7 separate regions of the Homo sapiens genome follow, and regions 1, 2, 3, 5, 6 and 7 are each linked to region 4. Evidence: promoter capture Hi-C in 16 types of primary human blood cells and fetal thymus (Javierre and others, 2016). All regions are on one chromosome and are shown on one strand. Each heading gives the region's core, a stretch centred on a gene start or on the middle of the fragment in contact. The rest is flanking DNA. Distances are from core to core; before and after follow the strand shown. Region 1 has its middle 48 kb from the start of IFNG-AS1. Region 2 overlaps RAP1B (RAP1B, member of RAS oncogene family). Region 3 overlaps RAP1B (RAP1B, member of RAS oncogene family). Region 4 holds the start of MDM1 (Mdm1 nuclear protein). Region 5 overlaps IFNG-AS1 (IFNG regulatory antisense RNA 1). Region 6 overlaps NUP107 (nucleoporin 107). Region 7 has its middle 6.4 kb from the start of RAP1B.

Evidence for each region. Contacts are between HindIII fragments. The CHiCAGO score rates a contact against its expected background, and 5 or more counts as called.
Region 1: a fragment that was not itself captured here is called in contact with the fragment with the promoter of MDM1 in region 4 in 2 of 17 cell types (activated CD4 T cells and naive CD8 T cells); the score reaches 8.0 in activated CD4 T cells.
Region 2: a contact is called between a fragment that was not itself captured here and the fragment with the promoter of MDM1 in region 4, in 14 of 17 cell types (megakaryocytes, M1 macrophages, M2 macrophages and 11 more). The highest score is 18.7, in megakaryocytes.
Region 3: a fragment that was not itself captured here is called in contact with the fragment with the promoter of MDM1 in region 4 in 6 of 17 cell types (megakaryocytes, M1 macrophages, monocytes and 3 more); the score reaches 14.5 in megakaryocytes.
Region 5: a contact is called between a fragment that was not itself captured here and the fragment with the promoter of MDM1 in region 4, in 1 of 17 cell types (activated CD4 T cells). The highest score is 5.1, in activated CD4 T cells.
Region 6: a fragment that was not itself captured here is called in contact with the fragment with the promoter of MDM1 in region 4 in 1 of 17 cell types (megakaryocytes); the score reaches 7.3 in megakaryocytes.
Region 7: a fragment that was not itself captured here is called in contact with the fragment with the promoter of MDM1 in region 4 in 7 of 17 cell types (megakaryocytes, neutrophils, monocytes and 4 more); the score reaches 12.5 in megakaryocytes.

What each region holds. Positions count from the first base shown.
Region 1 is chr12:68,035,903-68,039,510 of GRCh38, forward strand. It overlaps the pseudogene HNRNPA1P70. Among named protein-coding and RNA genes, the nearest start is that of IFNG-AS1, 48 kb to the left of the region's middle. The HindIII fragment of the contact is 1,749 bases long and covers 1,292-3,040 here.
Region 2 is chr12:68,644,299-68,647,904 of GRCh38, forward strand. The region is part of intron 1 of RAP1B (RAP1B, member of RAS oncogene family); the gene reads left to right. Among named protein-coding and RNA genes, the nearest start is that of SNORA70G, 19 kb to the left of the region's middle. RefSeq lists a silencer at 3,317-3,517. The HindIII fragment of the contact is 5,436 bases long and covers 1-3,606 here.
Region 3 is chr12:68,623,284-68,626,602 of GRCh38, forward strand. All of the region lies in intron 1 of RAP1B (RAP1B, member of RAS oncogene family), which reads left to right. Among named protein-coding and RNA genes, the nearest start is that of SNORA70G, 2.4 kb to the right of the region's middle. The HindIII fragment of the contact is 2,308 bases long and covers 376-2,683 here.
Region 4 is chr12:68,330,795-68,334,148 of GRCh38, forward strand. MDM1 (Mdm1 nuclear protein) reads right to left here and starts at 1,568. Exons shown (of 15, transcript NM_001354969.2): 1 at 1,434-1,568; 2 at 313-427. The coding sequence starts at 1,451. LOC105369819 (a long non-coding RNA gene) reads left to right here and starts at 1,837. Exons shown (of 3, transcript XR_945057.3): 1 at 1,837-3,354. RefSeq lists an enhancer at 1,119-1,208 and a silencer at 1,509-1,768. The HindIII fragment of the contact is 10,890 bases long and covers 1-3,354 here.
Region 5 is chr12:68,006,995-68,010,278 of GRCh38, forward strand. All of the region lies in intron 3 of IFNG-AS1 (IFNG regulatory antisense RNA 1), which reads left to right. Among named protein-coding and RNA genes, the nearest start is that of IFNG-AS1, 19 kb to the left of the region's middle. The HindIII fragment of the contact is 2,182 bases long and covers 937-3,118 here.
Region 6 is chr12:68,708,012-68,711,267 of GRCh38, forward strand. NUP107 (nucleoporin 107) reads left to right here. Exons shown (of 28, transcript NM_020401.4): 9 at 1,227-1,298; 10 at 1,994-2,082. Among named protein-coding and RNA genes, the nearest start is that of NUP107, 23 kb to the left of the region's middle. The HindIII fragment of the contact is 6,708 bases long and covers 1-3,256 here.
Region 7 is chr12:68,602,627-68,606,372 of GRCh38, forward strand. No RefSeq gene overlaps it. Among named protein-coding and RNA genes, the nearest start is that of RAP1B, 6.4 kb to the right of the region's middle. The HindIII fragment of the contact is 4,363 bases long and covers 1-3,641 here.

The sequences.
Region 1 (3,608 bases), core at 916-3,415, 290 kb before region 4:
ATGAGATCCAAACACCAAGTGCTCCAGAGCTTTTGGGATTGTCACAAATGCCACTGTGGAGGAGGCAGATGCATGCATGGCCACACAAGGGGATGGAAGAGTTGTACAACCAAAGAGCTATCTCAGGAGAAGATTCTCAGAGACCAAGTGCCCACTTAGCCGTGAAAAAGATATTTGTTGGCGGCATTAAAGAAGACACTGAAGAACATCACCAAAGAGATTATTTTGAACAGCATGGGAAAATTGAAGTGATTGAAACCATGACTGACCAAGGCAGTGGCAAGAAAAAGCGCTTTGCTTTTGTCACCTTTGATGGCCATGACTTCGTGGATAAGACTGTCATTCAGAAATACCACATTGGGAATGGCCACAACTGTGAAGTTAGGAAAGCCCTGTCAAAGCAAGAGGTGGCTAGTGCTTCATCCAGGCAAAGAAGCCAAAATTGTTCTGGAAACTTTGGTGGTGGTCATGGAGGCAGTTTTGGTGGGATAGACAACTTTGGTCATGGAGAAAACTTCAGTGGTCATGGTGGCTTTGGCGGCAGCTGTGATAGTAGTGGATATGGTGGCAGTGAGGATGACTATAATGGATTTGGTAATGACACTGGTTATGGAGGAGGTGGCCCTGGTTACTCTGAAGAAAGCCAAGGCTATGGAAGTGGTGGAGAGGGTTGTAGAAACAAGGGCAGTGGCTTCTGTGACAGCTATAACGACGGAAGCAGAAGGGGCTTTGGCAGTGGTAGTGGAAGCAATTGCAGAAGTGGTAGAAGATACAATGATTTTGGCAAGTACAACAATCAGTCTTCAGATTTTGAACCCATGAAGGCAGGAAACTTTGAAGGCAGAAGCTCTGACCCCTATGGTGGTGGAGGCCAATACTTTGCCAAACCACGAAACCAAGGTGGCTATGGTGGTTCCAGTAGCAACAGTAGCTACAGCAGTAGCTACTGTTTTTTGTTTTTGTTTTTTTTTTTTTTTGTCGTTGTTGTTTGGAGACGGAGTCTCGCACTGTTGCCCCCGGGCTGGAGTGCAATGGCGTGATCTCGGCTCACTGCAACCTCTGCCTCCTGGGTTCACACAATTCTCCTGCCTCAGCCTCCCTAGTAGCTGGTGCCCACCACCACACCCAGCTAATTTTTTGTATTTTTAGTAGGGATGGGGTTTCACTATGTTGGCCAGACTGATCTCAAACTCCTGACCTCGTGATCCACCCGCCTTGGCCTCCCAAAGTGCTAGGATTATAGGCATGAGCCACTGTGCCCAGCCAGATTTTAATTACTGTCACGAGACAAAGCTTAGCAGGAGAGGACAGCTGGAAACATGACAAGGAAACTACAGGTTACAACAGATTTTTTAACTCAGCCAAGCACAGTCGTGGTAGGACCTAGCTGCTACAAAGAAGACATGTTTTTGACAATATTCATGTGTATGGGCAAAAATCTCAAGGACTGTAGTTGTGACCAATTGTACAACAGTTTATTTTAGTTTCTGTTCTGTAGAAAGTGTAAACCATGCCTATAAAGGGTTTTAATGTCAATTTTTCTTTGCACCCATGCTGTTGACTGCTCAATGTAATAGTCTGATCATGATGCTAATTAGATGTGTCCTTTAAAAAACAATATGATGTGTTGTAGTACATTGGTTGGCTGACATTAATGAAAAGACCTACCTATTAACATTGATAACTAAATCTGGACTTCTCTCTATAAAGCTACCCAATTGGGTCCCACTGGCTGAACTTTATATGCTTCAGTGGTGTCTTAACAAAAGACTGCCTCTAAATTAGACTAAGTGTCTTAGAACCCTGTGGTCTAGAGAAATGAAGTGAAATGTAATAGCTGGGAGAAACAGGGCATTATACATCTTGAAAGAACTATCTTTCAAGATAAACTAGCACCCCACTCTAGCCCAGCTTCATGGCTGACTCTCAGAGCATCATATTTTCCACTGATGGGCTGAAGATTCATAAATGTAGTAAACCACTGAAAACAATTGCTTCATAAGACTTCTTTAGAAAATTCCTTATGGTACTACATCTACAATGTAGAGGGCTTGTCTTCAGCTCCCTCAACATCTCAAATTTTTTGACACATTCAGTACATGCCTGTTATGTCTTTAATCCCAGAACACATGTATTTTCCCCTTCCAGATGATTTCTTTGCAGATTTCACAATGGAGAAGAGCTGTCACAGGTGGAAGTAATCATGCTGTCACAAAGATATTACTTTTTTCTTCCAGTGCTGGAAGGCAGTCAGGAACAAGCCATGCATTAGTTTAAGAGCCATGAGATGTATAACTCCAGTTTTTTAAAGCTCATAGTAGAAAATGAAGAGGGGGCAATGGCATAGCAGGTGAATGCATTTGGGGTGTGTTACAGACCAAGCAAGAATCAATCACTTATGTCTGTCAGACCAGATGGATCTGGAAACAGTTTAATCCTCAGGGCCAATGTGATATGTTGTGATATGTGATATGTCACAATAATATGTTTTCCCCGCAGGTTTCAAGCCTGTTTAAAAAAATGTTTTTAAACTTGAAAGGAAGACAAGTGACCAATATTATAAGGTTAATGCAGAAAATAATGGTCATAGTATTTAATAAACTTCAATTTATCAAATAAACCTGTATGTCAGTCTTTCTGGCTTTAGGCCTGTTTGCATCAGAATTATCCTGGAGGATTCTTAAAACAACAAAAATAAGCACACAAACATCTATTTAATCATAAGGGAATTTTCACCTAAAATAATCTCCCCCTGTGATGTAGATTCACACTGGAGTTGAGTATAATAATTTTGCTCTCATCAAAAATAATCGGAAAGAGAGGAGCTTTGGGATATGTCATTTTGATCTAAGAAAACGTATTGGCTTTCTTGCTGCTTCTTTGGATTCTTTTTTGCATATCATCTGGCAAGTGAGCAGGTGCACAGCTCTGATAAGCAGGAAGGAACCCCCGACCCCACCACCACTGCCTCAGAGCAAATACTCAATAAATGGTCACCTCATTTCCACCCCCCTCCCTACTCCCACCCACCAGGCAAGAAAGCTTAAACCTAGTAAAATCTCTGAGTGCTCAACATGGAATGGAAAACCCAGAAGAGCAAGGTTGGAAATTGTAGCTGGGAAGTCTCAAGTTCTCTGGTTCCTCCTGGAAGAGGGCATGAAGGTGGCTTTGTGTAAATATGGGCATATTGATTTTTATTTGATGAGCCATAGAAAACTAGATAGTCCAGAAATAAATAAAGGAACTGGGAATGTTGGAATCCACAAATATTGACCATCAGTTTGGGATTGGCAGCTTCTCTCCTTCCCATCTTTATTACAAGTTATAGCGCCGTTACCTTAGATGCACACATGCTTTACAATAATGTTTTTGAAGCCAAGCCCTAGAGATTTCTCAAATATGCTTCCTATGTCTTTCTAGAGGCCCAAGCACACACCTCCCTCATTTATTGCCTCCTATTCAACTTGCGCAGCTTTTATGTGGTTTACATATAAAGCTTCTGTTTAAGATTGTGTTGTCTGGGCGCGGTGGCTCCTGCCTGTAATCCCAGCACTTTGGAAGGCCGAGGCGGGCAGATCACGAGGTCAGGAGATCGAGACCATCCTGGC
Region 2 (3,606 bases), core at 449-2,948, 310 kb after region 4:
TGGAACAGTGGGCCGGGCACGGTGGCTCACGCCTGTAATCCCAGCACTTTGGGAGGCCAAGGCGGGCGGATCAGGAGATTGAGACCAATCTGGCTAACGCGGTGAAACCCCGTCTCTACTAAAAAAATACAAAAAATTAGCTGGGCGTGATGGTGGGCACCTGTAGTCCCAGCTACTCAGGAGGCTGAGGCAGGAGAATGGCATGAACCTGGGAGGCGGAGGTTGCAGTGAGTCGAGATGGCGCCACTGCACTCCAGCCTGGGTGACAGAGCAAGACTCCATCTCAAAAAAAAAAGTCGAGCAGTGATTCTCAACTGAAGGAATAGCAGTCCTCTTTAGTGTACTGAGTGGCAGCTCAAACCATTGTTACTCTTATTTTAAAAGTTACTTTTTTTTTTTTTTTTTTTTGAGATGGAGTCTTGCTGTGTCGCCCAGGCTGGAGTGCAGTGGTGCGATCTGGGCTCACTGCAACCTCCACCTCCTGGGTTCAAGCAGTTCTCCTGCCTCAGCCTTCCGAGTAAGTAGGATTACAGGCATGTGCCACCACACCCGGCTAATTTTGTATTTTTAGTAGAGGCTTTGCCATGTTGGCCAGGCTGGTCTTGAACTTCTGACCAGCCTGGTCCAGCTGGTCCAGTGATCCAACCGCCTCGGCCTCCCAAAGTGCTGGGATTACAGGCGTGAGCCACCACGCCTGGCCTGAAATTTATCTTTTGTTGACGAGTATGTGCAAGGTGTTGTGTCAGTGACTCTGAAGAATTACTACATTTCTTTCCTTATTCTTTCTTTAATTTATTGATCACATATTTCAGGCACAGTTTCAGGTTCTGGGAATATGGCAGTGAGTAAAACAAAAAAAATCCCTATCCTCATGGAGTTTACATTCTTTGTAATCCATCTCACAACCTTATCATGTAGCTGTTACTATCTTAATTTTACCTGGAAGGAAAGTGAGGCTCTGAAAGGTTTCGTGACTTGCCCAAGATTATAGAAAACCACAATTTGAAACTTAGGTACCATTAGCCACTATGCTGTGCTGTCAAAATTGTCCCCCCATGGGGTTCTGTGAAAGAGAACAATTAGTCTCAATGTCTCAAATAGTAGTTGTCACAAATGTCTTTGAAAATCTGATGTAACTATTCCCATTTTTAATTGTGCATGAAATTTTAGGGAATTGACATATTTCAAAGTGCTCATTCTTAACCTGAGCTAAGGACTTCAGGAAAAGAACACTTGAACAGAAAGGTTATGCCTAAAGATCACAAATACGCTATACAAATAACAGGTGCTACAGCTCTTTCCCAGTCCCTACCAGCACCACAAGCCAATTATGTTGCTTATTGAACAGAGTTGTCTTTTCTGCAAAACTAGATGCAACCACACCATCCTAAAAACAGGATAATGGCTGTTGCCAGTCAGTCAGAGTTGGCATTCGCAATAAAAATCTGTTTTTCAGTCTTTTCAAGGCTGGTGTAGTAGAAAGCACAGATTTGAAAAATACTGATTCAAATCTTGACTATTGTACTGTTGGGTTTTTTTTGTTTTGTTTTGCTGTTTAAGGTAACAGAAATACCCTGATAATATCCCCAAACTGGAAATCAGCTGGTGTGAATGGGTAAAGAAAATATCATGTATTCATGTGGTATATTTTAATCAACAGTAATAAATAAAAGGAGCAAGTTACTGATAGATACAATAATATGGATGAACCTGACTCATTCTAGCAACAAATAATAATGCTCATTCATGGATAAATGAAGCAGCTGGGAAAAAGAGTCCCAGTCACCTCACTAAGAAGTGTAGCTCCCACAGCCAACTCAGCCACCTTTGTGAAATAAGAAAGGCATACGTCTCTTAGAAAAATCACCTCTGATAAATGTATAGTTTTTATATTCAGTATTTTAAAATTGTAGTTTTTATGTTGTTTCGGTCAGTTGTGTTATGTTTGGAGGTTTTAGTGAATATATAGTTATGCAGCCATCACTACAACCAGTTTTTGGTGTGTTTTTTTTTTTGAGATGGAGTGTTGCAGTCTCACCGGGGCTGGAGTGCAGTGGCACGATCTCAGCTTACTGCAACCTCCACTTCTCGGGTTCACTCGATTCTCCTGCCTTAGCCTCCCGAGTAGCTGGGATTACATGTGCCCACCACCATGCCCAGCTAATTTTTGTACTTTTAGTAGAAACGGGGTTTCACCATATTGGCCAGGCTGAACTCCTGACCTTGTGATCCGCCTGCCTCAGCCTCCCAAAGTGCTAGGATTACAGGTGTGGGCCACTGCGCCCGGCCCACTACAACTAGTTTTTAGAACACTTCCATCACCCCCAAAAGGTTTCCTGTGACTATATGTAGTCAGTCCCACTCTCACTCCCAGTGGAGGAAGGGTGGAGAATTGGATGCTCATATTTCCTTTGGAGCAGCAATAATGAACAGATTTGGGGTTATTGTACTTCCATTTGTTAGTGAACATGCAACATCAGTTCCTCCTGTGGCTCTGTTTGTACAAGTAGCCTCATCTGTGGGCTTGCATTTCTTCGAAAACAAAGACCTTTTTATTTAGTTTTTTCTAGTTTGTTTGTAAGACTCTGAAAATCTCAACCATTGTAGATTTTTTCGGATTACCAATTTTCCATTTTAGGTTTCCTATTTCAGACCTGAACCCATATACAAAAAGAAAGGCCATCTCTTTACTTTAACTGTTGGGTCTTTGCCAGAATACTTTTGAAAATTTCCTTAAATCAATTTTTATTTTGTATCCTATTGAATCTTTTTGAGACAGAATCTCACTGTGTTGCCCAGGCTGGACTCCAGTGGTGTGATCTCAGCTCACTGCAACCTCCACCTCCCAGGTTCAAGCGATTCTCATGCCTCGGCTTTGCGAGTAGCTGTGATTACAGGCGTGTACCACCACACCCAGCTAATTTTTGTCTTTTTTTGTAGAAACAGGGTTTTGAAGCCGGGTGTGGTGGCTCACGCCTGTAATCCCAGCACTTTGGGAGGCCGAGGCAGGTGGATCATGAGGTCAAGAGATCGAGACCATCCTGGCCAACATGGTGAAGCCCTGTCCCTGCCCCCCACTCCACTCCCCGCCCCCCCCCCCCCCCCCAAAAAAGGGTTTTGCCATGTTGGCCAGGCTGGTCTTGAGCTCCTGATTTCAAGTGATCCACCCACCTCAGCCTCCCAAAGTGCTGGGATTACAGACATGAGCCACCACATCTGGCCGAGTTCTTGATTACCTAAGCTATCCTGGTCAGATACACTGCTCTTTTTTTCCCTTTTTTTTTTTTTTAATTTCCCCAACCTTGCTAGACTGCTGGTCTTACAGGATTTTGGGGAATTAGGAAGTTCCATGGTTGGCAAACTTTCAAAGACAGGAGCAGGTTAATGTTAGCTATAGAAGCACTGTCACTCAAGTGAAGACAGTTGTTGATTGGTTGGCTTTGGGATGTGTCTGTTTAACAGGCCATTTTTGATTGCCTGAGTTTCAGAAGTAAGGAACCCTCATTAGTTGGTTAGTTTGTAGAAGCATATCCTCTGAGGCAAATTGTTATTAGTTGATTAAAATCATTTAAATCAGTTATAGTAGCTTTGTTAACCATGACCCAA
Region 3 (3,319 bases), core at 280-2,779, 290 kb after region 4:
GGATCTAGTAGTTAGAAAAGACAGTAAAAATAAGGTAGAATCTGCATATTAAAGGAGTTTTAGATTAACAGTGAATTACAGTGAGCAGTACTACAGAACTACAGAAATTGAAGTAAATTCAAGAGTGTTTTGCCCTGGTAGATGTTTGTAAAATTGATTATAGGGCCATAATCCCTTATCTATATATAACCTTTGGTGCCAGGTATTTTTGGATTTCAGAATTTTGAGGAAAGATTTGTTTTAGATTTTGGTAAGAGTAATCAAACACAATATTAATGTGGAACATGGATAGTCACATTAAGTGAGAGAAATAAAAGATAAAAATAGTCTCCCATCAGTGCTCAGGTGAAGTTTTGCCATTATATATTAGGATTAAGCTTTGCCACCAACATAGTTATAGAACTTTGAGTTTTCAGAGATTTTAGGATTTCAGAATTTCTATAAGAAGTCGGTTTCAGGCTGGGTGTAGTGGCTCACGCCTGTAATCCCAGCACTTTGGAAGGCCAAGGTGGGTGGATCACGAGGTCAGGAGATCGAGACCATCCTGGCTAACACGGTGAAACCCATCTCTACTAAAAATACAAAAACTTAGCCGGGCATGGTGGCGCACGCCAGTAGTCCCAGCTACTCAGGAGGCTGAGGCGGGAGAATCGCTTGAACCCAGGAGGCGGAGGTTGCAGTGAGCCGAGATTGCGCCATGGCATTCCAGCCTGGGCGACAGAGTGAGACTCTATCTCAGGGAAAAAAAAAAAAAAAGAGAGAGAGAAGAAATTGGTTTCAAATGAGTTAAAAAGGCTTTATTCATTACTGTTTGGAGAAGATACCAGGGTCTGAAAATGTTACTTTGAAGCAATTAGCTTTAGAAACCCTCTTTGCCAAGGAATTGTTTGACCCTGACTCAGGATGGAATGCAGTGCTGAGGGTGATGAGTCTTTAGGGTATGGGAGAATCACCTCATTCTATAATTGCAGAGTCCAGTTAAATTTGGAAATAGTTAAGATTGGTGCCTAACAAACACTAACATTTTTTTAAATGTTTAAATATTGAGAGCTCATAACTACAGTTTCATCTTGGTGATTTTTTTAGTCTTATAAGGTATTAGGCAGTTTGTTTCCTAATAATGTTTTTAAGAATTATTTGATACATTTAATTGTAAGAATACAATAGATTAGAATAGGAATATTATAAATAGGACTAATGTAATCCTCATTTAAAAATCCTCAGACCAGACACGGTGGCTCACGTCTGTAATCCCAGCACTTTGGGAGGCCAAGGCAGGCAGAGCACTTTGGGAGGCCAGGGCGGGCGGATCACTTGAGGCCAGAAGTTCGAGACCAGTCTGGCCAACATGGTGAAACCCCATCTTTACTAAAAATATGAAAATTAGCCAGGCATGGTGGTGTGTTCCTGTAGTCCCAGCTACTCGGGAGGCTGAGCAGGAGAATCGCTGGAACCTGGCAGGCAGAACTTGCAGTGAGCTGAGATCGTGCCACTGCACTCCAGCCTAGGCGACAGAGTGAGACTCCGTCTCAAACAACAACAACAACAAAAGCTCCTCGATGGAACCATTTGATAGTGACAAGGATTGAAGTAAGTATCTGAAGAGGCTACTTAGAAACTCAGAATTGGTTACAGGAAGTGACTGCCCACTTTCCATGTGTTCTTCAGATGCTCTGGTTATTCTAACAGCCTAGTTAACCACCCAGACTTTGGTTCTCATTGCCTTTATCCATTTGTTTGGTGTATATACTAATGTTCAACGATGCACACATAATGCATGTGATGTTTTTTGGATACCGTCTTATCACTTGTAGAATTGCCATGATAGGCATTTTTTGGAGCTACTTTAAGTACTTGCTGGCCTAGTAATTATGCAAGTAAGTAATTAAGTGTTTATTCATATGTGAAAGCCCAATGTAAGCATTATTTATGTCTTTCAGTGAAGTGTGGTGTGCCTTTCATTTTTCTGAGTGGTCTTTATTTTATGGAATATTAAATGGATCTTTGAATAAACTCAAGAGGGTAGATTATAAAAGGAAGAACTGTTAAATTAGTCAAAAACAACTTTATAACACAATTAGCTGCATAAGCCAGTGCGTGCGTAAGCAGGTAGTATAAATGCTTAGGTTGAGATACTAAAATTATTATTAGAGAAAATTACAGGAAGTACCTATGCTCCCACTATGTTTTGTTACTTGGTTAATTTTTCTCCTCTGAACTTCTGGCAGGTTTACTGGGGAATTTTCCATTAGGAATATTCTGGTCCTTAAGTTTCATTTTGAATGTATAATATAATCATGCAGATTACGAACCCACAATCTAAAATCAAGGCATTCTTTTTTAAAGTTTCAGATGAGGCTGGGTGTGGGGCTCATGCCTGTAATCCCAACACTTTGGGAGGCCGAGGCGGGTGGATCATGAGGTCGAGAGATCGATACCATCCTGGCCAGCATGGTGAAACCTCCCCGTCTCTACTAAAAATACAAAAATTAGCCGAGCGTGGTGGCGCGCACCTGTAGTCCTAGCTACTCGGGAGGCTGAGGCAAGAGAATTGCTTGAATCCAGGAGGCAGATGTTGCAGTGAGCCAAGATCGTGCCGCTGCACTCCAGTCTGGCGATAGAGCGAGACTCTGTCTCAAAAAAAAAAAAAAAGTTTCAGGTGTATTCAGGAGTGGTCATATTAAGCTTGTCACCTGATCCTGGTTATGAGGTTAACAGCAAAATGAAATAAAATATTTTTCTGAGCCATTTGTTTCTCCTCTCATGGAAGACACTAATTCTGTTTATTTCTATATTCGGCCTTGTGTTGAAACAGACTGTAAAATCATGTTTTAAAAAAGCTTCACCCATCCTTGTGGAGGGTGGTGGTTTGCAAAAGCACCACCCCACTTAAGCATTTATATTGAGAAGATATTTATGGCATTCTTCCATTCATGAAAATGGGTATGCTTTGTTCTGGAGTTCTTACCTTGATTTATCTACTAACACTAAAGTTCCTCACTTCCAATTTCTTATACCTCTAACCCAACAGCTTATAAACTGCATGTAGTATAGTATTTGCTTGAAATATGTGAAAGTAGTTATTTTCCCTAACTAATAGGGATATTTCTGTGGTGGTTGTAGTTACTTTGCAACCTGTTCAGCAAATATTATAGGGCGTTTTTGATGGTATCTTTAAATTTTGGACATAGAGAACCATCTTGGATAACCTCTTTCCCCCCAGTCTCAGTCATCCCTTTGGAGGTAGTGTCTCATTTTTAATCTGTGACTTGTGGAAGTTAAGGCATTTGAGTAGCTTATTTAAAGTATTAATAATCTG
Region 4 (3,354 bases), core at 318-2,817:
GTGTAAGGGCACTGGCTTTTTTTAGCTTTCAATATTTAACTTAACCGCTCAGTCAGTACCGAAACAGTTGTGATGGAGGCCTCCATTAGTGAAACCTGGCCTGCCACACTAGCTGCTGGGAATAGTCCTGGCTCATAGTAAACCTTCAATAAATACTTGATTAATAAATGAATAAATCAACCAGGCCAACTGAACTTTTAATATATCATTTGGTAAACTTAGCCCAAGGTTTACTTAGCCCAAGTTATAACGGCTTGGCCCAAGTTATAAACTTAGCCCAGGTTAGAATGGCTATTAGCCTGCTCAACTTACCTAATTGATCTGATCTAAGTCCAGCCCATGGGTACTTTCGCCCCACGGAGGAATTACAAGACTCGGACAAATAAGACTTTTTCCACAGGAAGTTCCTCTGGTATTCACTCAGCCCCTGTAATGCAAAGTACACTTTTGAGTACAGTCCAATTAATGAATGATGTTTTAAAGCAGACATCGGTGAAAAATAATTTCTGAACCTCCCAAAAGAGACTTAAGACTGAAAATTAAACACAGACGAGCTCCTTAATAAGAGCTAATATTCACCCAGCCCTGTGCTAAGCAGTTCACACGTGTTATATCCTTTAATCCACAACACCACTTGAGGCAGATGCTACCAGGAATTCCAGGCTCAGAGGTTACCCTTTCACTGATTATCTGATTCCAAAGCATGAGTTCTTGTCGGATAACTAATGACAATCTAAATTCTCATCATTCTAGATTTATCGCAGGTTTTCACCGAGTACACAATATTATGTACCATGCCTAGGACCTTTTGCTATTTGATAAAGTCAACAAAAGGCAAACTCCCCTTCCATTCTGAATACACGCCTTTAAGATAAATGAGTCAGGAGATGTGGGACGCTGTGGCCACCTGTGAAGTTGCAGGGTGCTAGTCCCTGACAGCTACCAGCTACCTGGAACTTTTAACATACGCTAAGAATGCACAACGATGAAAAACGTGTATTTCTTTATACGCTGTCTTTACTAAGAACCCATTTCTCAAGCCTTTAAAAGCCACATACACTAAAGTTTTAAAGGTAATGGGGGTTAAATGCTAAGCTAAATGGGCCACAGGTGTCCCAATCTGAAGTCGCCTTTAGTTCTCTTCGCAAAGGGACCTCCTCCCATCTCCACTCCTCTTGAGTCCCCCTAAGTAAATGTGTCTCGCACCATCTGACTCTTCGACACACTGCAGCTTGCAAATGTGAGTGAGCGGAGAGGGAACTAGGTTAAGAGGCGGCGGGCAGATTCTGGGGCCCCTCGAGCAGGCCCTGGGGCTGGCAGCTTCCGCCGGGCAGAGGGCTGCAGCGCAGAAAAGCAGCGTGACCTCGGCGCTCCACACCTCCCCGGCCATGGCTCCCCCCAGCCACATTCCGGCCCGGGGACCCCAGCCTCACCTTGAAGCGCACCGGCATGTCGCCCGGCGCCGGAGCCCCCGCTACTCCGACAGTTAACTGGAGAAAAAGCTCCGAGGGGGCGGGGCGATAACAGTGTTCCCTAGCAAAGCCTCGGCCCGGCGTCCCCGACTACGCGCCGGCGCACTCCGCGCTTCCCGCCTAGAGGCCTGTCGGTCTGTTTTTCCCCGCCCTTTTTGGAGCCTAGGGACCAATAGAGACTCGCAGAGTGCCTTACCTCCATTAGGATTTGACCAATGAGTGGCCGAAAGGGAGCCGCCTACCTCCCTTGCCAAATCCCTGGGGCTGATAGAGATGGCGGGCGGAAGGCCGGCCAATAAGGCTCCCGGAACCGGGCTGGGCGGGACCCCGGGGGTGCCTTCCTGGGTTGGGTGGACCGGTCCCTGGTTCGCCGGGTCCTGCGCAGCAATGCGTCTGCTTGCTGGTGGAATTCGCCAGCCGCCAGCCTCGCTGGCCCAGGTGCTTGACAGCATCAAAGGTCAAAGTGTGTTCTTCATGCTAACATCTATGAGAAAACCGAACGCTTCTTTTTCTGAAAGTGCTCAGATTTATTCTGCTGAATATCGGTTCGTACAAACGACAGCCGCATTACAGTTTATTGTCACATCAAAAGGGAAAGGCCAAAAAAATATATAACTTAGGCAAGATTTTTGAAACTTTATTGAAACTCGAAAGACAAACTGCTGTCTCTTCCTCCAGTGATGTTCTTCCTCCTTCAATCTCTACCTTCCCCAAAATGATGTACATACAGCCCTTAGATGAGAAAACGTTTATTGAAGATGGTTGTCTCAACTTCCAAACCTTCAGCCTTGTCTCTCCGCTCAACCTTTTTTTAAAAATAAAACTTCATCTGATTTTAATCGACTATTGCCATCATCGTCGATAAATGTTTCTTGACAGAATACTGCTGATTCTGAGAATTGGGAAAGAAAGAAATTGTCCAGATAGTTCTCTGATATACTTGGGAAGGACATACATCTTTATTTATTTATTTATTCATTATTTATTCAATAATGGTGTAATGTGACATGTGCTAAATTTCTAAATGAAAGGTGTCAATAATAAGGGCTACAGGATCTGGGAGCAGGGAGTCATTTCGGACGGCAGAAGATGCGTCAGGAGGAAATATTCAGACTGAAAGGACTGCAATAAGTAAAAAGTGGGACGATGAAAGGGCAGATGTCTGAATGGAATGCTGCCAGGCTTCTTCCAGGAACAACAAATGAGTGCCTTTTACATTTGTCATGTGTTGACTGAATAAAAGTATACCACTCTTAAACTTTCAAATATCAACACCAATCCTTGATGCTTCCCTTTAAGCATTTTCCGCAAAAGCTGTCTTCCTGAATCCTGATTGATGTCTTTGTTCTTCATCATCATCGAGATACTTAAAAATCATTTGAAGAAGCCACCTGATATCTGGAACAAAGAGCATATTAAATTAGTCCCAATGCAGCCATGCATCCAGGGGGCCCTTGATTAATGTTAATTGGTGATGACAGCATCTCTGTCGTGTAAATTAAGAATGGCACAAACAAGACACAGTGGAACATAGAACAAAAGTCATCTGCAGGAAGGCAGCCCATCTTACAGAGTAAGAAAGGCACAACTTTGGTTGTGCACACAGCTTTGTTACCACAAAATGCTAAGGTGAGATCAGCAAAAGCAAGTGTGTAGAATGTAGCCTGCCTGCTAAACAAGCGCAATGATCACTGCAGAAGAGCTCTGCTGAGCAGGGAGTAAATGACAGGAAAACCAAACAGCAGATTGTAAAAATAACTCAGTCACATCCCAGGCTTGCTAGAGAAGTATCATAAAGACTTAAGGAAGAAGATTTTACTTTGCTATTGTTAAACAAAAGCCTACCCAAGTTTAAGAGGCAAAGATATAGGAATGGGAAAAA
Region 5 (3,284 bases), core at 778-3,277, 320 kb before region 4:
AGAAAAGGAATATACCCTTAGAATGATTTTTTAAAATCACATGGAAGAGTGCTTATCTATAAAAACAGTCAGTGTGTGTAGTAAAGGCACAGAGCCTAAAGCCAGACTACATGGGTTCATGTCCCAACACCACCCCTCCTTGTTGTGTGACCTTGGGCATGTTCCCCTGTGCTTCCATGCCTCCATTTCCACATTATGAAACGAAGATAAACACAGGACTCCATTCATAGGATTATTTTGAGAATTAAAGGACTTCAGTTATGCAAAGTCCCTAGAAGGGCAACTGGCACACAGTAAGCACTCTATGAATCATTAACTATCCTTATATGATGCAGCTCTACTAATTGTCAGTGGAGCTAGATATATCAAAGACTTTCTTCATATACCCCCTTGACAATTAAGAATGTCATCCTAATATAAACACTCAAGGCATTTGAAGAGATCAAATTTATCACTGTGTTGAGTTTCAATAATCTATTTTAGTCAGAAAAAATAAATAATGGATGAAATGATGCAAGAAATACAATCTCAATTTTAAACTGAAAAAATAGCTGGTGGAGACCTAATCATTCCTGAGAGTTTCTTAATGCCCTCTCTCCCCTAAGATTCAAATATCAGTCACAGTTTCAAAGTAATCACTATAATACATGAACAGCTGATGAAATCTCATGTTGTAATTGCCACATGTTATTTTCAAGGAATTGCACAATGCAAAACCTCTATATTTACACAATAAAATAGAAGGAAAATACTTTTGGGAAGGCTACTTAGCCATGACAGATAGATAGAAAGACAGAAGAATAGGAGGCAGAGATAGAGAAAGACAGAGGAAGGGAGAGATGGAAGAAAGAAGGAAATAGATGACTTGGTGCCCTCACGATGAGATGATACATCTTGAATCCCCTGGGTCAAATGGAATCTTAAATAAATAAGTGAAGCTTCTTCTGAAGCAATATAAATTGTTGAGCTATAGCTTCTTTAAAAAATCAGGCAAACTAAAAATGGAAAACCATTGTCTTAAGATATCCAACTAGAATTTAGCTAGGAAAAGGAAAAAGTCAATTGTGATATGAAGTTCAATACTGCTAAAGACTAGCTACCTCAGAATTGCAAGGGGGATCTTTTAAAAATTAGAGATACAGCCAGGCGCAGTGGCTCATGCCTGTAATCCCAGCACTTTGAGAGGCCGAGGCAGGCGGATCATGAGGTCAGGAGATCGAGACCATCCTGGCTAACACGGTGAAACCCCATCTCCACTAAAAATGCAAAAAATTAACCAGGCATGGTGGTGGGCGCCTGTAGTCCCAGCTACTCGGGAGGCTGAGGCAGGAGAATGGCGTGAACCCAGGAGGCAGAGGTTGCAGTGAGCCAAGACCACGCCACTGCACTCCAGCCTGGGCGACAGCACGAGACACCATCTCAAAAAAAAAAAAAATATGTAGAGATACATAGTCTTTATCCCAGAGATTCTAATCTAGGAGTTCTGGAGTTCACAGCAGGAAACTGAATTTTTAAAAAGCTCTTTATTAGTTAAGGTAAGTTTTAGAAAGAATCAAATTCCAAGGTGTCAGTAGATTAGCACAATAGAAATTAATTTCTTGTTCGTAGGATGGCTCATGGTGAGGTTGGTAGGAGGCTTCTCCACATGCAGTCATTCAGTGACCCAGACTATTTCCATCAGTGGCTCTCCCATATGCTAGGGTTTCATAGTCATCCGCATCCACCAAGTAGAAGGGGAAACAGCATGGAGGAGCACTATGGGAACTTGTAATGGACCAGACTGAAAGTAGCATGAATTTTCTTTTTTCCTCTCATTCTGTTAAGGAGATCTCAGTCACAGGGTGACAGCTACCTACAAGGGAGGAAGGGAAATACCATCCAGCTGGTGTTCCAATAAGAAGAGGCAGTAGATTTCAGTGAACAGGATGAGTGTCTGCTACAAGCACTCCATGTGATTTTATGTACAACTGGTGCATGATTGAAAGTTCACAGTTGAAAATACAACTTTTGAGTCCAAATAATCTAAATTCCAAACTTGGCCATTTGACAGCTATGTGATCTTAGGCAAAATATCTCCCCTCCTTGTGCCTTGGTTTCTTCAGTTATTCATCTTTTAAGTAAAGATTAAAAACATCCTACATTGTAAGGTTCTTGTGAGACTGAAATAAGACAATATGTTTAAAATAATTAGAACCATAACTGGCACTTAATAGTAACACATATTTTACTTAAACTGTATTGTCTAGGAATCAAGGTGTTCTGCTATTTGAGATAAGAACTCAGATGCATCAGTATCAGAATATATATTTTGTCCCAGCTGAATTATTACATTGGAACAGTTTTTTGTTTTTGTTTTGTTTTGTTTTTTGAGACAGTCTCGCTCTGTTGCCCAGGCTGGAGTGCAGTGACACAATCTTGGCTCACTGCAACTTCTGCATCCCAGTTCAAGCAATTCTCCTGCCTCAGCCTCCTGAGTAGCTGGGACTACAGGCGCCCGCCACCACGCCCAGCTAATTTTTTGTATTTTTAGTAGAGACGGGATTTCACTGTGTTAGCCAGGGTGGTCTCGATCTCTTGGCCTCGTGATCCACCCACCTCAGTCTCCCAAAGTGCTGGCATTATAGGCGTGAGTCATTGTGCCTGGCCTGGAACAGTTTTTAAAGGTAGAATTTTAACACACCAGAAGTTGGTTTCTTGCTCTCATAAAAGTTCCTGGGCAACTGGGCAGCTCTCCTCCATGCAGTCATTCCGAGATCTTGTCTTTTTCCATCTGGTGGCTCCCCAATCCCTAGGCTTTATCATCATCTCATCCAGTGTGTAGAGATACACCAGGGAAGCAGTACTCACTGTGGTCAGAGCTAAGAATTCAGTGCTGCAGTATTAAAATATTTGAAGCCCACTGAAAGAATAATTGATGAGTTTTAAAAATAAAATAAAAGCAACTTCCAAAATTAAGAAATTGAAAGTGTTGATAGTTGATATCTCAAGCTGATATTTACAATAATCTGATGATTTTAATTCAGAGTGTTTCAGATATTTTTAGATTTAACTTTTGCCACATATGAATGTTTACCACTACACCCAAGGGACTCCATGAACACTTCTGGAATAGGACCTAAGCTTTATGGTGCTAATCATTTGAAGCAAGTGAAACCATCATTGATAAGCTTGATGCTGTATCATTGAAAGGATTAATTTACAGAGTGGTTCTGAAGTCTGGACCACTATTAAGGCACTGTCCAATCAGTGAAGTTATCTATTTGAAGTAGAGATGACCTTTGTTC
Region 6 (3,256 bases), core at 333-2,832, 380 kb after region 4:
GCCCAGGAGGCAGAGGTTGCAATGAGCTGAGATCAGGCCCACTGCACTCCAGCCTGGATGACAGAGTAAGACTCTGTCTCAAAAAATAAATAAATAATTAAATAAAATATACTACAACATTTTATATAAGGGCCTTGAACATCCACAGATTTTGGTATCCACGAGGGGTCCTGGAGCCAATCCCCCATGGATACCAAGGGACGACTATATGTTTGCTAGAGGTTTCAGTTAGTCTAACTTATGAGGATATATATATTTTTTACATCAAAATGGCAAGGTAAAATTTATGAAGATATTTTTATGAAATATTCTGGTACCTGTCAAGAAGTCCATGTAGCTTTTCTCCTTTAACCCATGGATAAAATGGATTAATTAATTAATTTGACCCATTCTTGAACTGGTCACAATATATTATCCTTTTAATATACTGCTTAGTATTACTTGCTAATATTTGTATTAAATTGTCTTTTAAAGTCAGTTGTAAGAGCCTTGGATTGCTCTTAGCTTTTATTACTTATCAACTTCTATATAGACTATAAAGGATTTTAACGTTTTTAAATGTTTAGTTTCTAACATGTAACAGGGCTGTATTCAGCCCTGTATTACAGTTTTTTTTTTTTTATTTTGGGATGGAGTCTCACTCTGTCACCCAGGCTGGAGTGCAGTGGCGTGATCTCAGCTCACTGCAACCTCTGCCTCGTGGGTTCAAGTGATTCTCGTGCCTTAGCCTCCGAGTAGCTGGGATTACAGGCTTGCGTCACCACGCCCAGCTAATTTTTGTATTTTTAGTAGAGATGTGGATTCACCATTTTGGCCAGACTGGTCTCGAACTCCTGACCTCAAGTGATCTGCCTGCCTCGGCCTCCCAAAGTGCTGGGATTACAGGTGTGAGCCACCATGCCTGGCCTATTAAAGTTTTTTGTTTGTTTTATTTTGTGTTTATTTTTCCCCAAAACACCATCTCTGGGAAAATGGAATTTTAAATTTCAAGTGTAAAGAATCAATATACCAGGTAAGAGCAGCTACAATTGATGTAGCAGTTTGGAATTTACACAATAGATACCTTTCAATGATGAATATACAGATTTACTATGTGGTAAAATGTTTATGTATAGATGATTAACTGTACTTGTTTCATACTGGCTTTTTATCTTTCTATTAAAATAATATTTCTTAACAGCATCTTCTTTTCATTCTGTTTATCCTTTTAATATTTTTCATAATAGGCTGTTAATGCCAGTGAAAAAACAGTTGTGGAAGCGTTATTTCAGAGGGATTCACTTGTTCGACAAAGTCAGGTATGACTAGAATTTAAAATTTTTTTTTATGAAACATGGAGAAAAGGTTAATGACATGCAAAGTACTGAAGTGTTTTTTAACTTAAAACTGTTTTCTGAATTTTTTTTCTACTTGATCTTTTTATTTGCAATTAAAAGGAATTAGAAACCTTATTCTTTGATTTTTAAGTAATAGCCCTAGTATTTTCAGGAATAGCCTGTTAAAAACGATTATTCCTATAGAAAATTTTATTCTTTTGCCATAATATTTATTTATCTTAAAGTAAAAATAGTGTTTGGAAAAATTGTTACTTGATATTTTTAAAATCAGAAACTTCACGCCTGTAATCCCAGCACTTTGGGAGGCCAGGGCAGGCAGATCTCGAGGTCAGGAGATCGAGACCATCTGGCTAACAGTGAAACCCCGTCTCTACTAAAAATAAAAAAAAAATTAGCTGGGTGTGGTGGTGGGCGCCTGTAGTCCCAGCTACTTGGGAGGCTGAGGCAGGAGAATGACGTGAACCCAGGAGGCAGAGCTTGCAGTGAGCCGAGATTATGCCACTGCACTCCAGCCTGCACGACAGAGTGAGACTCTTTCTCAAAAAAAAAAATAAAAAATCTGAAACTGTTTGAATTAAGGGTAGTAGTACCACTACAAATAAAACACAAATAGATTTGGTAGTTAACACTAATTTATTTTTTTCTTTCTTTCTTAGCTGGTGGTAGATTGGTTAGAGAGTATTGCCAAAGATGAAATTGGAGAATTTTCTGATAATATTGAGTTTTATGCAAAATCAGTATATTGGTAAGTTACCAAACTTTAATTCTTAAGGTCACTCAATGTTGATATTGTTCATTCATCTTTCAATAAGTATTATTCAGTTTTTACTTTGTTCACACTACTTTGTTCACACTACTTTGTTTGGTGTGTGAGCAAAACAAATAAAGGCTTTGCCTTTATGGAATTTATAATTGTTTAAGAGAGTTAGATAGCTGATTTGCAAATATACAGTTGGCCCTCTGAGTTTGTGGGTTTCGCATCCATGGATTGAACAAACTGCAGATCAGAAATAATTGGAATAAAACAAGCCGGGTGTGATGGCTCACGCCTGTAATCCCAGCACTTTGGGAGGCCAAGGTGGGGGATCACGAGGTCAGGAGTTCCAGACCAGCCTGACCAACATGGTAAAACCCTGTCTCTGCTAAAAATACAAAAATTAGCCGGGTTTGGTGACGCACACCTGTAATCCCAGCTACTTGGGAGGCTGAGGCAGGAGAATCGCTGAAATCCAGGAGGTGGAGGTTGCAGTGAGCCGAGTTCATGCCATTGCACTCCAGCCTGGGCGACAGAGCAGGCCGTCTTAAAAAAAAAAAAAAAAAACAGAAAAGAAATAATTGGAATAAAACAATAAAAATAACAAGATAAAAAAAGTAATACAAATTTAAAAATATAGTATAATAGTTATTTGCATAACATTTACGTTGTATTAGGTATTCTAAGTAATCGAGATGATATAAAGTATATGGGAGAACATGTGTAGGTTATATACAAATAATACAATATTTTATGTAAAGGATCTGAGCACCCTTGGATTTTGGTATCCAAGTAGGGTCCCCTATGGATACCAAGAGACAAATGTATATTCTGTTGGGTATTCCGAGCTTTGGGGAAAAAAATGAATTAGAGGCTCGGCGCTGTGGTTCACACCTGTAATCCCAGCACTTTGGGAGGCTGAGGCGGGTGGATCACGAAGTCAGGAGATCAAGACCATCCTGGCTAATGCGGTAAAACCCATCTCTACTAAAAATACAAAAAATTAGCCAGGCGTGGTGGCGGGCGGATCACGAAGTCAGGAGATCAAGACCATCCTGGCTAATGCGGTGAAACCCATCTCTACTAAAAATACAAAAAATTAGCCAGGCGTGGTGGCGGGCGCCTGTAGTCCCAGCTACTTGGGAGGCTGAGGCAGGAGAATCGC
Region 7 (3,746 bases), core at 210-2,709, 270 kb after region 4:
AGCAAAGCAATGTGAAAGTTTAATAAACATTTGTTGAATTCTTACTATGTTTGCACAAAGCATTATTGTGCCAGAGGAAGTAGCAGAAAGCAACATATATTGATAATCCGTTAGATGATGATAGCCAGTAGTTAATAGAGTGCTTACTCTGTGGTAAGCACTATTCTATTTGTACTGTGAACTCATTTAATTCTCACAATAACCCATGACATAGGTTATATTATTGTACTCATTTTACAAATGAGAAAACTGAAGTACCCGAAGTAAATTCCTCAGGATGAGTAGAGCCTGTATTTCGACATGTGGAGTATGGCATCAGAGCTGGTCCGCTTAACCACTACTCTATATTACTTCCATTTTGACATGTGACCTATTTTAAATCCTTTTAAAAGGCCTAAATTATAAACATTGTTATGAGCATTTTAAAGACTAATAAAAAGGCCAGGCATAGTGGCTCACGCCTCGAATCCCAACATATTGGGAGGCCAAGGCAGGAGGATCACTGAAGCCCAGGAGTTTGAAACCAGGCTGGGCAGTATAGAGAGACCCCTGTCTCCACAAAAAAAATTTAAACATTTAGTGGGGCACAGTAGTGCCTGCCTGTAGTCCAGCTACTCAGGAGGCTAAAGTGGGAGGATTTCTTGAGCCGAGGAGTTTGAGGCTGCAGTTAGCTGTGATCATGCCACTGCACTCCTGGCCGACAGAGCAACACCCTGTCTTGAAATTTAAAAAAGAATAAAGATTAATAAAGAGAAACTTTCAAAGGCTAAATAACTGCCAGAGGTAAATCCACTATGATTAATTTGGAGACTCTAACCAAGATTAGAAAGACCTCCCCCTACATTTGATTCTAATCTGTAATGCCTGGCAGTATAGTAGGTACAAAGAAGTTTAAGATACAGTTTCGGTTTTTGAGGATCTCAGAATGGAAAGAAGACAAAAGCAACTTAAGTAAGGCAATGTATGATAAGTACCAAATGGAGTGGTACAAACAACAATTATTTGGAAAATTCAGAGAAGGAAGGGACCACTGGGTCTTGAAGAATGACTAAGATTTAGATAAATACAAAATAGAAGAAATTTTCTCATCTTTATAATGGGTCTTTAAAACCTACCTCTTGGAATTTGATAACTATTACTGAGATACGTGACTCATACACAGGACTTGGCCATAACTGGAACCAGAAGCTAAATACTATCCTAATAATAAAGTCCCAAGAAATGCTTGACTCGCGCATATTGGGCATATTAGCTGTTTGATTTGGGGACAGCCCAGATTCTGAAAGTATATGTGGTTTTTGAAGATTTTCTTAATTTAAAATTTCTTTTGAAAATTTCATAATAGGGTATATTTTATGAAGTTGGTTTTTCCAATAGTTTTGTGCTTTTAACACTCATTTACATGATGGCTCTGGTAATGCCATTTTCATTTTTACGGTTTTTCTCAGCTAAGACTTGAGATGGGGAAATTTTAAGTATAATCTGTTCCTTACATCACAGACCTTAGCAATGACAAAATTAGAGGGCTGTTAGATTTATTTAATGTGGTGTAGGCAGGTTTGGTGGTCAAGCCCACAACTGCTGAAACTGAGTATAGACAGAATTTGAAATATATCTTGAGACAAATAAGCAGTTATTACAGTTATTACACAGAATAGAAACATGCCAAGCTGCTTCATTTTTCTTATATATAAGTGCATGGTTTCCCCAAAACAGAAATCTTAGAGGAACACAAACTACCCTAGGAGAGTATGAGTTCTGAGTGTTTTCTCATAATAGCAATGGTCTAATATGCTCTTACCTGGTCTCCTGTGTGATTAAGTGGTAGAATTTATAAAATAACTGCATTGAGTTTGGAATGCAGTCTTTGACCAAGAAAATAGAAGGAAACTACTGAAGATGTAATTTTTTTCTTTTTCTTGCTTTCTTTTTTTTTAAAGCAGCTGTCTACAAACTAATAACTAGAGATGTAAGCCATGTATTTTTTCTCTTTTGCATCTAATAAGCAGTCTTCTTATTCTTTACAACTTCCCAACCCAGTCACACAGGGTGTTGCAAAGGTACAGAACTGTATTTATATACCATACACTATATATACATACATAGATTTATATAATACATGCATACACACACACACACATCAGAGGGAAAAGCCAGTAAGGAAGTGAAAGGATCAAATTCAATATTGTTAATTTGTGAATGAAATAATATACTAATGTTTAATGTTAAGGAACATTAATGTTACTGATAACCATGATAAACTGGAAGTTAAATGTTTACATTGATAATCATTAACTGTCAATTAGGAAAATTATAAATCTGGGTCTTTTAAAAATCCAATTTTGGATTTGCAATAAGACCGCTACTCATATGGACTTTTTAAAGTGAAACCAATGAAGCATAGATGTTATTCCTTTAAAGTAAAACTTTTGGCCAGGCACGGTGGCTCATGCCTGTAATCCCAACAGTTTGGGAGGCTGGAGGCTGAGGTGGGCGGATCACCTGAGGTCAGGAGTTTGAGACCAGCCTGGCCAATATGGTGAAACCCTGTCTCTACCAAAAATACAAAAATTAGCCAGGCGTAGTGGCGCACGCTTGTAATCCCAGCTACTTGGGAGGCTGAGGCAGGAGAATCACTTAAACCCGGGGAGGCGGAGGTTGCAGTGAACCAAGATTGTGCCACTGCACTCCAGCCTGGGAAAGAGTGAAACTCTGTCTCAAAAAAAAAAAAAAGTAAAACTTTTAAGGAAGTAAATAATATGAAAAATTAGAAATACTGTTATCAGGTTAAATAGTTAAGGACACTATTAATTCACTTTCTTTAAAAGGGGAAAAACTTGCTTTGAGCTGCTTCTTGTTCCAGAGACTGAGACATTGCTATTTTCTACACACTATTTTACAACAGTTCTGTAAGGCAGATATTATCATCCCATGTTATAGATGAGGAAACTGAGATTCAACATGATAATGGGATTTTTCCAAGACCACTAGGCTAATAAGTATAATAAGAGCTGGACTCTGATTCTCACCCCCTCTGCCATTTCACACTACCTTAGGAAAAGAAAACTCAGCAAATATATCTTAAATGCCTATTATGTGGAAAGCACCAAACTGTGTTTCTTATAAAGATAAGAAATATGATCAGCACAGTGGCTCACACCTGTAATCCCAGCATTTTGGGCATCTAAGGTGGGAGGATCACTTGAACCCAGGAGTTTAAGAGCAGCCTAAGCAATATGGTGAGACCCCTGTCTCTACAAAAAATAGAAACATTAGCCGAGTGTGGTGGCACTTGCCTGTAGTCCCAGCTACTTGGGAGGCTGAGGCAGAAGACTGATTGAGCCTGGGAGTTGGAGGCTGCAGTGAGCCATGATCACGCCACTGCACTCCAGCCTGGGCAACAGTGAGACTCTGTCTCAAAAAAAGAGGAAAGGAGAGGAAAGGAGAGGAGAGGAGAGGGGAGACGGCGGCGGGGGGGGGGGGGAGGGCAGGGGAGGGGAAGGGAGGAGAGGAGAGGAGGGAAATCCTGATCTTGTAGGAAATATACATACACACATACACATTCTGATCTGGATTTTATCTTCTAGTATAGGCAGGACCAGTTACATAATTTATGGGACCCAGTACAAAATGGAAATTCAAGCTTCTTATTTAAAAAATTATTTAAAACATCAAGATGGCCAGGCGCGGTGGCTCACTCCTGTACTCCCAGCACTTTGGGAGGCTGAGGCGGGCGGATCACTTGA